Linked DNA regions of Homo sapiens: regions 2, 3 and 4 are each linked to region 1. The links are contacts of gene promoters, found by promoter capture Hi-C in human tissues and cell types (Jung and others, 2019). All regions are on one chromosome and are shown on one strand. Each heading gives the region's core, a stretch centred on a gene start or on the middle of the fragment in contact. The rest is flanking DNA. Distances are from core to core; before and after follow the strand shown. Region 1 holds the start of PKP2 (plakophilin 2). Region 2 has its middle 130 kb from the start of SYT10. Region 3 has its middle 50 kb from the start of SYT10. Region 4 overlaps SYT10 (synaptotagmin 10).

Evidence for each region. Contacts are between HindIII fragments. The study calls those that stand out against the background at their distance.
Region 2: a contact is called between a fragment that was not itself captured here and the fragment with the promoter of PKP2 in region 1, in 1 of the 25 tissues and cell types used here (spleen).
Region 3: a fragment that was not itself captured here is called in contact with the fragment with the promoter of PKP2 in region 1 in 2 of the 25 tissues and cell types used here (mesenchymal stem cells and stomach).
Region 4: a fragment that was not itself captured here is called in contact with the fragment with the promoter of PKP2 in region 1 in 3 of the 25 tissues and cell types used here (dorsolateral prefrontal cortex, mesenchymal stem cells and neural progenitor cells).

The regions. Positions count from the first base shown.
Region 1 is chr12:32,894,888-32,898,422 of GRCh38, forward strand. It overlaps PKP2 (plakophilin 2), which reads right to left and starts at 1,890. Exons shown (of 13, transcript NM_001005242.3): 1 at 1,622-1,890. The coding sequence starts at 1,844. RefSeq lists silencers at 1,889-1,998, 2,199-2,298. The HindIII fragment of the contact is 8,511 bases long and covers 1-3,535 here.
Region 2 is chr12:33,568,712-33,572,246 of GRCh38, forward strand. No RefSeq gene overlaps it. Among named protein-coding and RNA genes, the nearest start is that of SYT10, 130 kb to the left of the region's middle. The HindIII fragment of the contact is 6,824 bases long and covers 1-3,535 here.
Region 3 is chr12:33,487,755-33,491,289 of GRCh38, forward strand. No RefSeq gene overlaps it. Among named protein-coding and RNA genes, the nearest start is that of SYT10, 50 kb to the left of the region's middle. The HindIII fragment of the contact is 3,024 bases long and covers 131-3,154 here.
Region 4 is chr12:33,433,628-33,437,162 of GRCh38, forward strand. All of the region lies in intron 1 of SYT10 (synaptotagmin 10), which reads right to left. Among named protein-coding and RNA genes, the nearest start is that of SYT10, 4.4 kb to the right of the region's middle. The HindIII fragment of the contact is 3,485 bases long and covers 1-3,262 here.

The DNA.
Region 1 (3,535 bases), core at 640-3,139:
TTCCCTCCATGTATTGCAGCAGTTCTGTGTTTTCTAGACCTCCCCAGCCTTTCAGAACTTCCTCAATTTTATTTAAAGAAAAATGGGAGGGGGCCACGGAGAGGCTTAGCATCTAACAAATCCCACTTTGTATTAATCATTTTAAAACTTAATGATAAAACTGATAAGTTTAAAATTCAGGTTTGGGAGTTTAAATACCAGCTCTGCCACTTACCATCTATTAGAGCTTCAGTGTTACTTAACTGCTTAGTTTCCTCATCTGTAAAATGAGGATGAAAATACCTAACTCACAAGTTTTTAAATACATATATATATATATATCTCAAATGAATGCAAACCACATCGCCCAATTCTTGGCACATAGTATGCACTCAGTTATATTAACTACGATCATTGAACATCTTCTCTTTACCTTTCAAGTATGTTAATATTGACTACGTCATCCTTTAGGATTCTTTTACACACACAGTACAGCCTCCCAGACTCTGCTGTTTGAAATCTCTGGTCTGGCCTGTTAGAATTTTTCTGTTTTCCTAATAGAAACTAGAATGGGTTAGCCTACATTCGCCAATGCCCAAGTTACTTCATACAGAAACAACTGAACGTTGCAGGAAACAGATATTCCAACTTAATTGCTCAATTTCTTTCCTCTTCTTTTTGCTATAAGCCAACATAGTGCTTTTATAATGCAAACTCACATACACAGCAACAAGAAGTAAAACAAGGGTCACTGAGTTGATCCCATCACCTGACTTCAGCAGGGGAGAAAAGGATACATCATGATCTCTAATTTTCACAAGTGGCTTGCCATCTTCTTTCCCTTCCACCTCCCCCGTCTATCAATCATGAACATAGTGTGCATGTGTGTGCTTACACCCCTTTCACCTTCGGGTTTAATTTTTTGGAGGGATCAGACTTGCATCACGCCCGCACTGGTGGGGGTAGGAAGCGCAGCTAGGCGGGCACGGCTGTTGCCGGCAGGGCCAAAGTCCCCTACCTCCTCCTCGGCGTGTTTGTTCCCTGGACCAAAGCCTCCTAACTACTTTTCTTCACTCCCTAGATCCACCACTCGCCTCCCACACAGGGTGGAGCGCCCCGAAGTACTTGCATAAGACAGCACAATCCCAATTTATAGGTTGTAGGAGCGCCAGTGCTGTCGGTTTTTTTCCCCAAGATATTTATGGGGGTCATTAATTATTTAACAAATCTAATAAAATTGAAGGGCTCCTTCTCCCAGAAAAAGATCGTACACACCAAAAATTCTGCATAGCATCTCAAGGTGTTTATAGACTCCCTGAACCTTCAAATTAAGTCCGCACCAGTGAGGGGCGCGGACCGGCGGAGTAGAAAAAGAAAGGGGTGAAATCTTGAAGTGAGTTAGTTAACATTGATAGATATGTACAATATTTAATATACATAGGTACCTATATGACAAAGCTGAGTAATAGGTTATGGAAAAGAGTGCTTTCCACAAGCAAGTCGGTCATACCGAAGACGGCGAGCAACAGGTGGGCAGAACACGGGGTCCCGCACTCCCAGCACGCGGGGTGAGGGCGGGATAGGAGGAGGTGACCGGGTGTGGGGCAGGGGGCGGCGCCGGGGAGCGGCGGGCTCCACTCACCGTTGCCCACGGAGCTGCGGCCCTTCCGGGCGAGGGTCTGCTGCACCTGCTCCTGGATCCGCAGGCTCTTGACTGTCTGGCCGCCGCGGCCGCTGCTCCCCGCCAGCTTCAGCTTGGCCTCGGAGGGCAGCGCCAGGCTGGAGCTGTCCAGTTGTCCCAGGATCTGCTGGCCCAGGACGGTCCGGATGTAGCCGTACTCAGCTGGGGCGCCGGGGGCTGCCATGGGGCCGGTGGGGGCGACCGAGCTGCTCGCCTGCCTCTGGACTCGCGGGCGAAGCCGCCACGGAGCTGGGGGCGCTGGCGCGAGCCCCGCCCCGCTCGAGTCCGGCCCCGCCCCTGGCCCGCCCCCCGCGCCGGTGAGAGGCCCGGGCCGGGGGGGAGCTCGGCCTCGTGGGCCGGACGCCCGGCCTTCCCTGAGGAGGGGGCGCGGCTCCGGCCGGGCACGCGCAGTCGGGCCCGGGGGCGGGGGCGGGGGCGGGCCGGACCCGCTGAGCGCGCGGACACCTGGAGACTTGTACCCGCCCGCGGGGAGGTGGGGAGAGGGGCGCGGTTCGCCTGGGGTCGCGCACGTTGTCGGAGTCCCAGCGGATACCGCCTGCCGGGGCCGCGCCCCGCTCTGCCCACGCCCCGCGCTGGACAGGATGGATTTCCGCTCGATGCAGGGAGGGGCTGCCCTGCAGGCAGGTGAGCCCTCGAGAGTCACTCCTGTTCTTGGACTGAGGCTTGCCTCCGGGATCCCCGAGCGAGTAGTATGTCTGGTTAGTCAGGCTTTGTCGCACTGTTGGAAACGTTTCCTGGTTTTCCTGGACCTGAGGGTGAGAAAGGGCTATTTGGTCAGGCGGAAAGGGCAATATGAGGGAAATGTGCCAAGAAGATAACGTGTGAAATAAAAGACTTTCTAAAGAGAGTGTTTTTTTTCTTAGTACAACGTCAGGACTATGTACTTTTTGCACAGATGCAGTCCCAGAAACATATGTTCTTCCTCATTGAGAGCTTCTGTTTTCTCTTGGATACACAAATTGTACCCAGTACTCTTGCTAACCCATTCCTCTCTTACGAACACACCCACACAGAGAAACTCCAACAAGAGGCTCTAGAGAAGAAATGAATTTTAATAGACGATGCTTTTTAAATAGCCCTGCTAACGTTGATTAAGTCCTCTTTATTACAGGCTCTTTGTAGAGAGATCCACGGAGAGGGCCTCCAACTTTCAATCGAATCTTCCACAACTTGTATTTATCGTGCTATTAATTATGTTTCACCGCAGTTGACTACTGAGAACTTGAGAGCTAAGCTCAACAGAAAGGATCCTTGACCTTAAAGTTTACAACCAAAGCCACTTGTCCTGATTTGCCTCTTTGGACTTAAGAGGCAGAAAGAAAAACATGTATCCCTGGTATTAAGATAATATTCCCTTTGATTGCTTGGGTTTGTATGTTCACTTTCCCTCAAATCACTCAATTGCTGCAAAACCCCACTTACTCAAGTCTGAAGTGTTTGGAGAACGCAGCTTCCCTCGTCTTTGTTTTCCTACCCACACCCTTCTGCCTTTAGACACACACTGAATGCTTAGACACACAATGCACAGGTATATGGCCTCCCTTTTTACATGAGCGTCCAGGGAGTGAAGAGGAAACCAAAGGACTGAAAGCGTGGACAACAGAGTAGTGACAGTTCCGCCACCCTTTGTCAGCAGGCCACATGGCTAAGTGGGAGCCATATGGATGTGAGTCCTGGAAGCAATTGCTCCCACCCCAATAGAATGGACCACTATTTAGGCAAATTACACCTTGTGTAAAGCTTGCTTATGTAGCCAGGTGGAAACATCCAACCATGATGCTGAGATGTAATTGAAAAGAGAGGGGTGAACTGAAGGTAAGTGATGATAGAAACGTCCAGCAACATTCCTGTTTC
Region 2 (3,535 bases), core at 545-3,044, 670 kb after region 1:
TTCCAGTCTTTATTGCTTCTTCTAGTTACTCAGTGTTTTTGTAATTAAAAATTTTAATTTTTTTACCTTCATTGAAGTATAACTGATAAATTAAATTGCATATATTTAAAGTTTACAATGTGATAATTTTATGTACCTATACATTGTGAAATGATGACCATGCATCCATCACTTCTCATAGTTATGTTTTGTTTCCTTTGGTGAAAACACTGAAGATCTACTCTTTTACCTTAACAAATTTCAAGTATAGAATATAATATTATTAACTACAGTCACCATGCTGTACGGTAGACCCTCAGAACTTACAACTGAAAGTTTGTACTTTCATGTTATAACTGAAAGTTTGTACCCTTTAACAACATCTCCCCAATTACCTAACCCCTCAGCCACTGACAACCTCATTCTACTCTCTGTTTCTATGAGTTTGATTTTTTTAAAAAAGAGTTTTCATATAAGTGGAATTATTACCTTAATGTAATAAAAGCCATCTGTGACAGACCCACAGCCAACATAATACCGAATGGGGAAAAGTTGAAAATTTTCCCTTGAGAACTGGAACAAGAGAAGAATGTCCACTCTCACACTTCTATTCAACATGGTGCTGGAAGTCCAAGCCAGAGCAGTCAGAAAAGAGAAGGAAATCAAGGGCATCCAAATCGGTAAAGAGGAAGTCAAACAGGTGCTGTTTACTGATGATATGATCACTTACCTAGAAAACCCTAAAGACACCCAGAAAGCTCCTAGAACTGATAAATGAATTTCAGCAAAGTTTCAAGATACAAAATTAACTTACACAAATCAGTAGCTCTGCTATACAACAACAGTGACCAGCTGAAAATAAAATCAAGAACTCAATCCCTTTTCCAATAGCTGCCAAAAAAAAAAAAATACTTAGGAATATACCTAACCAAGGAGGTGAAAGACCTCTACGAGGAAAACTACAAAACATTACCGAAAGAAATCACAGATGACACAAAGAAATGGAAACACGTCACATGCTCACAGATGGGTGGTATCCATATTGTGAAAATGACCATACTGCCAAAAGCAATCTACAAATTCATGCAATTCCTATCAAAATACCACCATCATTTTTCACAAAATTAGGAAAAACAATCCTAAAATTCATATGGAACCAAAAAAGAGACTCACAGCCAAAGCAAGACTAAGCAAAAAGAACAAATCCGGAGGCATCACATTATCTGACTTCAAACTATACTAAAAGGCCATAGTCACCAAAACAGCATGACACTGGTGTAAAAATAGGCACATACACCACTGGAACAGCACAGAGAACCCAGAAATAAGCCCAAATACAGCCAACTGGTCTTTGACAAAGCAAACAAAAACACTAAGTGGGGAAAGGACACCATATTCAATAAACGGTGTTGGGATAATTGGCAAGCCACATGTAGAAGAAAGAAACTGGGTTCTCATATCGCACTTTACAAAAAATTAACTCAAGATGAGTTAAAAACTTAAATCTAAGACCTGAAACCATAAAAATACTAGAAGATACATTGGGAAAATCCTTTTAGACATTGGCTTAGGCAAAGACTTTATAGCCAAGAACTCAAAAGCAAATTCAACAAAAACACAGATAAATAGACGAGACTTAATTAAACTAAAAAGCTTCTGCACAGCAAAAGAAATAATCAGCAGAATTAACAGACACCGCACAGAGTGCGAGAAAATCTTCACAATGTATACATCCAACAAAGGACTAATATGCAGAATCTACAAATAACTCAAACAAATCAGTGAGAAAAAAATTAACAATCCCATCAAAAAGTGGGCTAAGGACTTGAATAGACAATTCTCTAAAGAAGGTATACACATGGCCAAGAAGCATATGGAAAAAATGCTCAACATCACTAATTACCAGGGAAATGCAAATCAAAACGACAATGTGATACCACCTCAGTTCTGCAAGAATGATCATAATCAAAGCATCATAAAATAATAGATGACATGGATGTAATGAAATGAGAACACTTTTACAAAGTTGGTGGGAATGTAAACTAGTACAACCACTATGGAAAACAGTGTGGAGATTCCTTAAAGAACTAAAATTAGACCTACCATTTGATCCAGCATTCCCACTACTGGATATCTACCCAGAGGAAAAGAAGTCATTATATGAAAAGATTCATGCATAAGCATGTTTATAGTAGCACAGTTTGCAATTGCAAAAATATGGAACCAGCCCAAATGCCCATCAAGCAATGAGTAGATAATGAACATGTGGTATATAAATAGCATAAAATACTACCCAGCCATAAAAAGAAACGAAATAATGGCATTCACTTCAACCTGGCTGGAACTGGAGACTATTATTCTAAGTGAAGTAACCCAGGAATGGGGAAACAAACATCGTATGTTCTCACTCATAAGTGGGAGAAAAACTTTGAGGATGCAAAGGCATAAGAATGATAAAATGAACTTTGGGGACTGGGAGGAAAGGGTGGGAGTGGGGTGAGGGATAAAAGACTACACATTGGGTACAGTGTACACTGCTTGGGTGATGGATGCACCAAAATCTTGGAAATCACCACTAGAGAAATTCATGTAACCCAACACTACCTGGTCCTCAAAAACCTGTTGAAATAAAAATAAATTTTAAAAGCCCTATTTACATCAGAGGTTGTTAGATTTTGTGCCTAGAGTTGTTCAGCTCTGTGCAGTTTGTATTATGGTTTTCAGGTTTACCATGGGGATATATGTATTAATTGCACAGAAAACCTGTATATATAATTGTTTGTGCTCTATCAAGGGGAGCTCTAGCCTTCATAATTATTTTAATTGAATACTGCTGCTCCCTTTGTGCTACTTTACTTGTATTAATGAAGATTTGAGTAATTAGATTTAGAAGAACATAGCATGTTTGCTTGTCTGCATACAGAATTTCAGTGATGTTTTCTCAAATGAATTGAGAATAATACTGAAATGCTGAAATCTTGTGATATATAAGTGGAATGTCTATGGGCTTTTAGTAGATAAAGGAAGAATAAAATCCTGCACGCTTTTCTTTCTTTGCATTATATATATATATACACATATATATAATATGTATATATGATACATATACACATGGTGTATGTATTCTAATATTTAGAAAGAAATACAGACAATCCTGTATTCCTGATGATAGTCCAACTTATGATGGTTTAACTTATGATTTTTTTTTGCTTCTGGTGGGTTTATTGGGGTATTAAATACATTTTTGATTTATGATATTTTTAACTTGCAATGGGCTTATAGGGATGTAACCCAATCATAAGTCAAGGTGCATCTGCATATGTATATTTCTATATTTTAAAAAGCATATTATTCTTTGATATGCTCTGATGTAACACATATCCAATTATAATCTATGATCTCCTGGAAAATATTAGTTATATTTAAAACAATATTTTATTATACAAACAATATATTTCAGAGTTGGTTAGCTCTACTTCAAAAAAATGCAAAAATAAAAAAAATTGGGTATATGAAAACAATGGTTAATAAAGAGTGATTAAATCTCTAATTCCAG
Region 3 (3,535 bases), core at 393-2,892, 590 kb after region 1:
AAAGGAAAATATAAACATAAAATTTAATGAAACAGGAAATTTCAACTTTTGGCATGTCCGAATAGCTGGTACTAGACTTGCCTTCCTATTGCAAAAAATAAAAATAAAAATAAAAACTGGAAAATAAAACAAAATGCAGTCACATGCTATATTATAATGTTTCAGTCAATGACAGATTGTATATATGACAGTGGTCCCATGAGATTATAATATTGTATTTTTATTGCACCTTTATATGTTTGGATATGCAAATACTTGACATTGTGTTACAATTGCCTACAGTATTTAGTACAGTGACATGCTTTATGGGTTTGTAGCCTAGGAGCAATAAGTTACATCATATAGCTTAGACGTGTAGTAGGCTAGACTGTCTAGGTTTGTGTAAGTACACCTGATAATGCTCAAACAAGAAAAATCACCAGACAACACATTTCTCAGAACATATCCTCATTACTAAGCAATGCATGACTGTACATCAAACAGTGATTTTCAGACATTAGGCAACAGGCATCAAAGGACTATTCTCCCTGAGAGAAAATAGTAATGAGGTGAGTTGCAAAGAATACTTTATGTTTCTGTCTGAAGGCACTTTCTGAACCTTGGTCCCAGAAGGGCCCAGCCTTGCAGTAAGACTAAACTGATGTCAGAGAAAAGGCAGCACTAGTCTCTCTCTAGCAAAGTGAAAAACAAACAAAAGGATCAAGCTTAACTGACTGATAAAGTTTCACACTATTTAAAGGAAGACCAAAAAATCAAGAAACTAAAAAATACACTATTTAATTCAAAAATTACTATATATTCTGGATATTTTAAAAAGTGAAAATACTCTCATATTATTTTACAAATTCAGTATAACCTTGCCAGCAAAACCATATACAGAGAGCATGACATGTAAAAATTGTAGGCTAAAATTAATCATTACGGTAGGTCCAATTATCCAAAGGAAAATATAAACAAACCAGTAATAAGTGAAAAGGAAAACTCAACTGTACCAAGTTAAATTTACTTTAGGAATGGAAGAATGATTTAACATTATGAAAAACAACATATTATTGTAATTCCCCACATTAACAAATCAAAGAGAAAAGTATGGGAGGGAGGTGGAGCAAGATGGCTAAATAGAATTTTCAGCAATTGTCCCCCACCTGCCAGAGAAACACCAAATTAAACAACTATCCACACAAGAAAGCATCTGCATAAGAACCAAAAGTCAGGAGAGCAATCACATTACCTGATTTTCACATCATATTAAGGAAAGAGGCACCAAAGAGGGTAGGAAAGACAGTCTTGAATCACCTACACAAACCTTCCCTTAACCGCTGGCAGCAACTCTGCAGTGCAGAGAGAGAATCTATGTATTTACCGGAGAGAGAGCACAGTGATTGTGAGACTTTGCATTGGAACTCCATGCTGCCTTGTCACAGCAGAAAGCAATACAGGGCAGAATTTGGATGGCATCCACAGAAGGAGCATTTAGACCAGGTATAGCCAGAGGGAAATCTTCCATTCCAGCAGTCAGAACCTAAGTTTTGGCTAGCTCCACCACCACCGGCTAAAGTGCTCTGGGGTTCTAAATAAACTTGAAAGGCAGCCTAGGCCACAAGGATGGCAATTCCTGGGCAAGTCCTGGTACTGTTCTGGGCCTGAAAATAGTAGACTTGGCCTGCATATGACCCACTGAGGCACCAATTGTGATAGCCAAGGGAGTGCTTGTGTCACCCATCCCTCAACTTCAGGTAGCACAGCTTGCAGCTCCAGGAGGAGAGGGAAGCATAAAGAGGACTTTGTCTTGCAATTTGGATACCAGCTCAGCCACAATAAAATAAGGGACCAAGGAGAGTCCTGAGGCCCCTATTCCAGGCACAGCTCCTGGATGACCTTTCTAGGCCCACCTTGGGCCAGAATTCCCTGGCCCTGAGGGGAAGGATTCAGTCCTGGCAAAATTTACCACCCGCTGACTAGAGAACCCTTGATCCTGGAATAAATATCAGCAGTAGTCAGAAAGCGGTTGCCATGGATGTTGGACAAGATTCAGTATTGTGCTAGATTCAGATCTAATCCAGCACATTTTCAGCTCTGGTAGCCACAGGGACATACTCTTTCTTTTTGAGGAAAGGAGTGGGAAGGGTAAAAAAGACTTTGTCTTGCAACTTGGGTGCCAGCTCAGGACAGTACAATAAAGCACCAAGCAGACTCCTAAAGTCCCTGATGATATGCCATAGCTCCTGGAGGGGATTTCTAGATCTAACTTGGGTCAGAAGAGAACCAGCCCTAAAGGGAGAGACCCAGGCCTGGCAGGACTCATCACCTTCTGACTAAAGAGCATATGGGTCTTTAATAAACTTCAGTGGTAGCCATATTGTAGTTGTCACAGGCCTTGAGTGAGACCCAGTACTGTGCTGCCTTGAGGTGTGACCGAGTACAGTCTTAGTGGTGATGGCCATGGGAGTGCTTGTATTTTCCCTCCTCCAACTACAGGCAACTGAGCATGGAGAATGAGAGACACTATTTGTTTGAGGGGAAGTAAGGGAAGAGAAGAAGAGGCAATGCATGGGAATCCAGGAATTCTCCTAGCTCTTGCCTGAGACCACCAAAGTGGTACCTCTATGAGTCTACAAGAGTCACAGTATTACTGGGCTTGGGTTATGCCCTAATGCACATATGGCTGCAGTGACTAAAGACTTAGACCACAACAATCAATTCCCTTTGAACACTTGGAAAGCCTTCTCAAGAAGGACTGGTACAGACAAGTCAAGACTATGAAGATTAGAATAAATTTCTAACTCTTCAGTGCCCAGATATCAATAAACAATGATAATCACCAAGACTATCCAGGAAAACATGACCTTATCAAGTGAACTAAATAAGGCAACAATGACCAGTTTTGGAGTGACAGAGATATGTGACCTTTCAGACAGAGAATTCAAAATAGCTGTTTTGAAGAAGCTCAATAAAATCCAACACAGAGAAGGAATTCCGAATCTTATTAGATAAATTTAATAAGGCTATTGAGATGATTAAAAAGAATCAAGCAGAAATTCTTGAGGTGAAAAATTCAGTTAATAAACTGAGGAATGCATCAGAGTCTCAACAGCATAATTGATCGAGCAGAAGAAAGAATTAGTGAGCCTGAATACAGGTATTAAAAATAAGGTCACAGGAGACCAAAAAAAGAATAAAAAAAGAGTGAAGCACACTTACAAGATTAGAAAATAACCCCCAAAGGGCAAATCTAAGAGTTATTGGCCTTAAAGAGGAGGTAGAAAGGAGAGATTAGGGTTGAATGTTTATTCAAAGGCATAATAATGAGAACTTTCTAAACCTAGAGAAAGATGTCCATATTTAAGTACAAGAAGGTTATATTGTAACACCAAGCAGATATAACCCAAATAAGACTACCTCAAGACATTTAGTAATCAAACACCCAAAGGTCAAGGCTAAAGAAAGGATCCTAAAAACAGCAAGATAAAAGAAACAAATAACATATAATGGAGCTCCAATACATCTGGCAGCATATTTCTCAGTGGAAACCTTA
Region 4 (3,535 bases), core at 270-2,769, 540 kb after region 1:
TGTACACTGAAGTACACATGTGTGCATAGTCAAGTAAGAAAAATGAAAAACACTGCTTGTTATATTTGGATGATAGAAAATCTAATAGAAAGGTTTGAGATATGGGTCATAATTGCACACTAAGAAATTTTATTGGCCAGTAATTATAGCCAATAATGTAATAATATTAACAGCTTATCTTCACAGACATTTTTTCCAATGCCCTTCAGCGCCAAGGACGCCCCCAGAATCTCCTCTTCCTATTCCTACTCTTTGTTAAACCTAGGCTAAAATCTAAGAAGCCCTGGTTTCTTAGCCTATCTCCATCACTAACTAGTGATGATTTGAAGGGAGGTTAAATTTCTTTGCCTTAGTTTTCACATCTGCAAAGTGATGATTCCTACTTTCAACTGGAATGATTAACAGCAATTTGAATCATGAGATAGTTACTTTTCTCCTGCCACTTTCTACTTAGCACACTAACATGCTTTCCTTTTACTGCCATACATGAATATATTGAACAGAGATTCTAGAACTTGTAGACTCAGTGCTTTATGCAACACTTACAAATTTAGCCATGGAATTACAGATCCAGTTGAACACACTCTGAAGAAAATCAATGGATACCTATATCAAGTTCAGTTGCTTTTTCATGAGTATATTGCTGACTGAATTCTAGCTTTTTAATGTTGTAAGTGCTCTAATTTCTGCTATTATCATAAACTAGATATTTTGTATGTCTATATAGGATATTGTATTAGATACTGGTGACACAAAAATACAGATGTATACAATTTAGTTGCAGAAGAGATTTGGAGGTTATTAAGTAAGACTCATTATCTTACAAATAATAAAGTTGAAGCTTCTTGATAATAAATCCCTTGATTCATTCATTCATTTAAAAAATATTAATTGGGCCAGGTGCAGTAGCTCACGCCTGTAATCTCAGCACTTTGGGATGCAGAAGTGGGCGGATCACCTGAGGTCGGGAGTTGGAGACCAGCCCGGCCAACATGGAGAAAACCCCCGACTCTACTAAAAATACAAAATTAGCTGGGCGTGGTGGCACATGCCTGTAATCCCAGCTACTTGGGAGGCTGAGGCAGGAGAATCGCTTGAACTTGGGAGGCGGAGGTTGTGATGAGCTGAGATCCCGCCATTGCACTCCAGCCTGGGCAACAACAGTGAACCTCCATCTCAAAAAAATAAAATAAAAATAGTAAATAAATAAAGTAGCTAGTATGAACCACAGATTTTTCAAGGCACTGAAGATAAAACAATAAACAAGCCCCTGACCTCAAAGAGCTGACATGCTATTGACTTAATGTGTACAACGTTAGTGGAATAAAATGTAGATTGGGAAGAATATAATCACATGTTCAAAATAGAAATGATTTTCATTGGCATTGGAAATTACATTAAACATTTATGGTAATGATTGTCTTCTGCCAGAATTTTGTATTTAAAAAAGCTTGTAAATGAATGCAGATGCATCTCAAACAATTACCAATTTTTTCAAAAAGCCAGTATTACAGTAATGACTGTTTTTTTAAAAATGTGATTTGAGCTTGGTATACAAAATCATTCATAAGAATTAGATGTCAGAGACTCACAGTTCATAGAAAAAGGAAATACAGCTTTTAATTTGTCACAAAGGAAAAAGAAAAGGTTAAAGCAAAAAGAAATTCCTGCCAATACTGCTAACATACTGGGATTTAAGAAGAATAAATGTTTGCTGAGATCTTCTTGGCTTTGAAGATAGGTCTCCATTTGCATTTGAAGTAAATCAGACCAAGCACAAGGTGTATTGATGATCATGTGACAATGAGACTAGACATAGTAGAAGTTGGCCACTCTTCAGTGGAGTGACAATGTGGAGGAAGGAAAAATATCCTCTTATATATTCTTCTTCAAACAGGCCTATCATTCTGAATTCACTGTGGCTCCATTATTCTTTTATAGACCTACAAGTCTCAAGGAAAAAATTCTACTGATAATATGTTTGTGAATTGGAATTCTTTATACAATCACTAGGATGTGTAAAACCCTGTTATGGTGATTAAAAAATGATAACTCAATTAATTGGGTAGTCATTTGCTTTGTCCCTCTACTATGAAGTCCCTCTACTAATTTTAAACCTTTATCATAGACCCACTATGCCTTGATCTTAGAGGGAAATTATGATGTAATTCTTATAATTTTACTTAACTATCCCTTTTCTTGTCAGTTAAGTACTTTAATAAAATTATTTCCCATATACCTACTTTTATCCCTACCTCTAAGAAACTGAAGAACATATGTATGAATTTAGAAGAATTTGTCTAAATTTTTATTTTAGAATTTTTAGTCCCAAATTAAAATTGTGTAAACATGCAAAATTAGAACATTGATGAATGAAATGCTTATGAAAATCTTTAAATTAAGCTTAGAGCTATACAATTGTGATGTGAGCTCAAGTGACTGTGAGCTTAAGTGGGATTGATTAGCTGTGATTTATGACGTCTGCCTTTTAAGCAACATAGGTTCCTTGAAATTGATGAGCATTTGAGCAGCAATTAAGGAGTAATCAGAAATTAAGCTAAATCCAGTTTAAAAACGATTATATATATTCAGTCACAGTATGCCTGAAAAATAACTTTTGGGTCCAATATGTTGCTTTGTATTTTCCCTAAGCATTCTAATATTAAATCATATTGTGCATTGAGATTAATTTAGTGGGTGACATATCTATTTCGGGAGAAAGAGAGAATCCATGGTAAAAAGACTCAAAATATCTGATATTCTAAAAAGTGCACGTGGTGAACTTTCTAGAATATTAGTAATGCTGGCACATATAATGACTCCGATAAACTACGCCAAAAGAGTAAATGAACTTGTGTTGGCAACTTTAGTGTAAGTCTTCACCAATTTTATTAAAGTATGAGATCAGTCATGTTGTGATCATATTGTGACTGTGAGATCCTCAATGGCAACAATACTGCTGCTGCTTCTGCTACTGCTGATATGGTAAAAATAATGGTGATACTTGCACTTCACTGGCATTTGCAAAACCCGTAAGATAATATCTTACATATATACATGATTTGTAGCTCCCTTCATGTAGAATGATTTTAACTGGAATTACCTGAATTTCTCTCCCACTATCTCTATGTGAAGGAATTAAAAATATACACAATTTTGGAGCTTGTAATTATCACTGTAATGTTAGAACAACCAATACCATCTGGGCAGTGCTGATTAACTTTCAAAGTAAATAAGCACTGTGCCATTCAACATTGTTGATGTCTTCCTACCAAAAATGGCCTTCTCATTAAACGATGAGTAGAAGGATCACTGGAAGTGCTTTATTTAGGAACCTATAATAACAAGCATGAGAGCACAAGTTATAAGAAAATCTACTTTAAAGAACAGTGTGACGCTGGGTGGCTAAGAAATATAATTAAATATTTGGCAAACAATCTTTAAATCCACTTCATAGATATCTATTAACTTTGAGTGTCTATTTGCAGATTAAAGTATTTTACTTCTAACTGTTGCTTGGATTCGCAAATGAAAA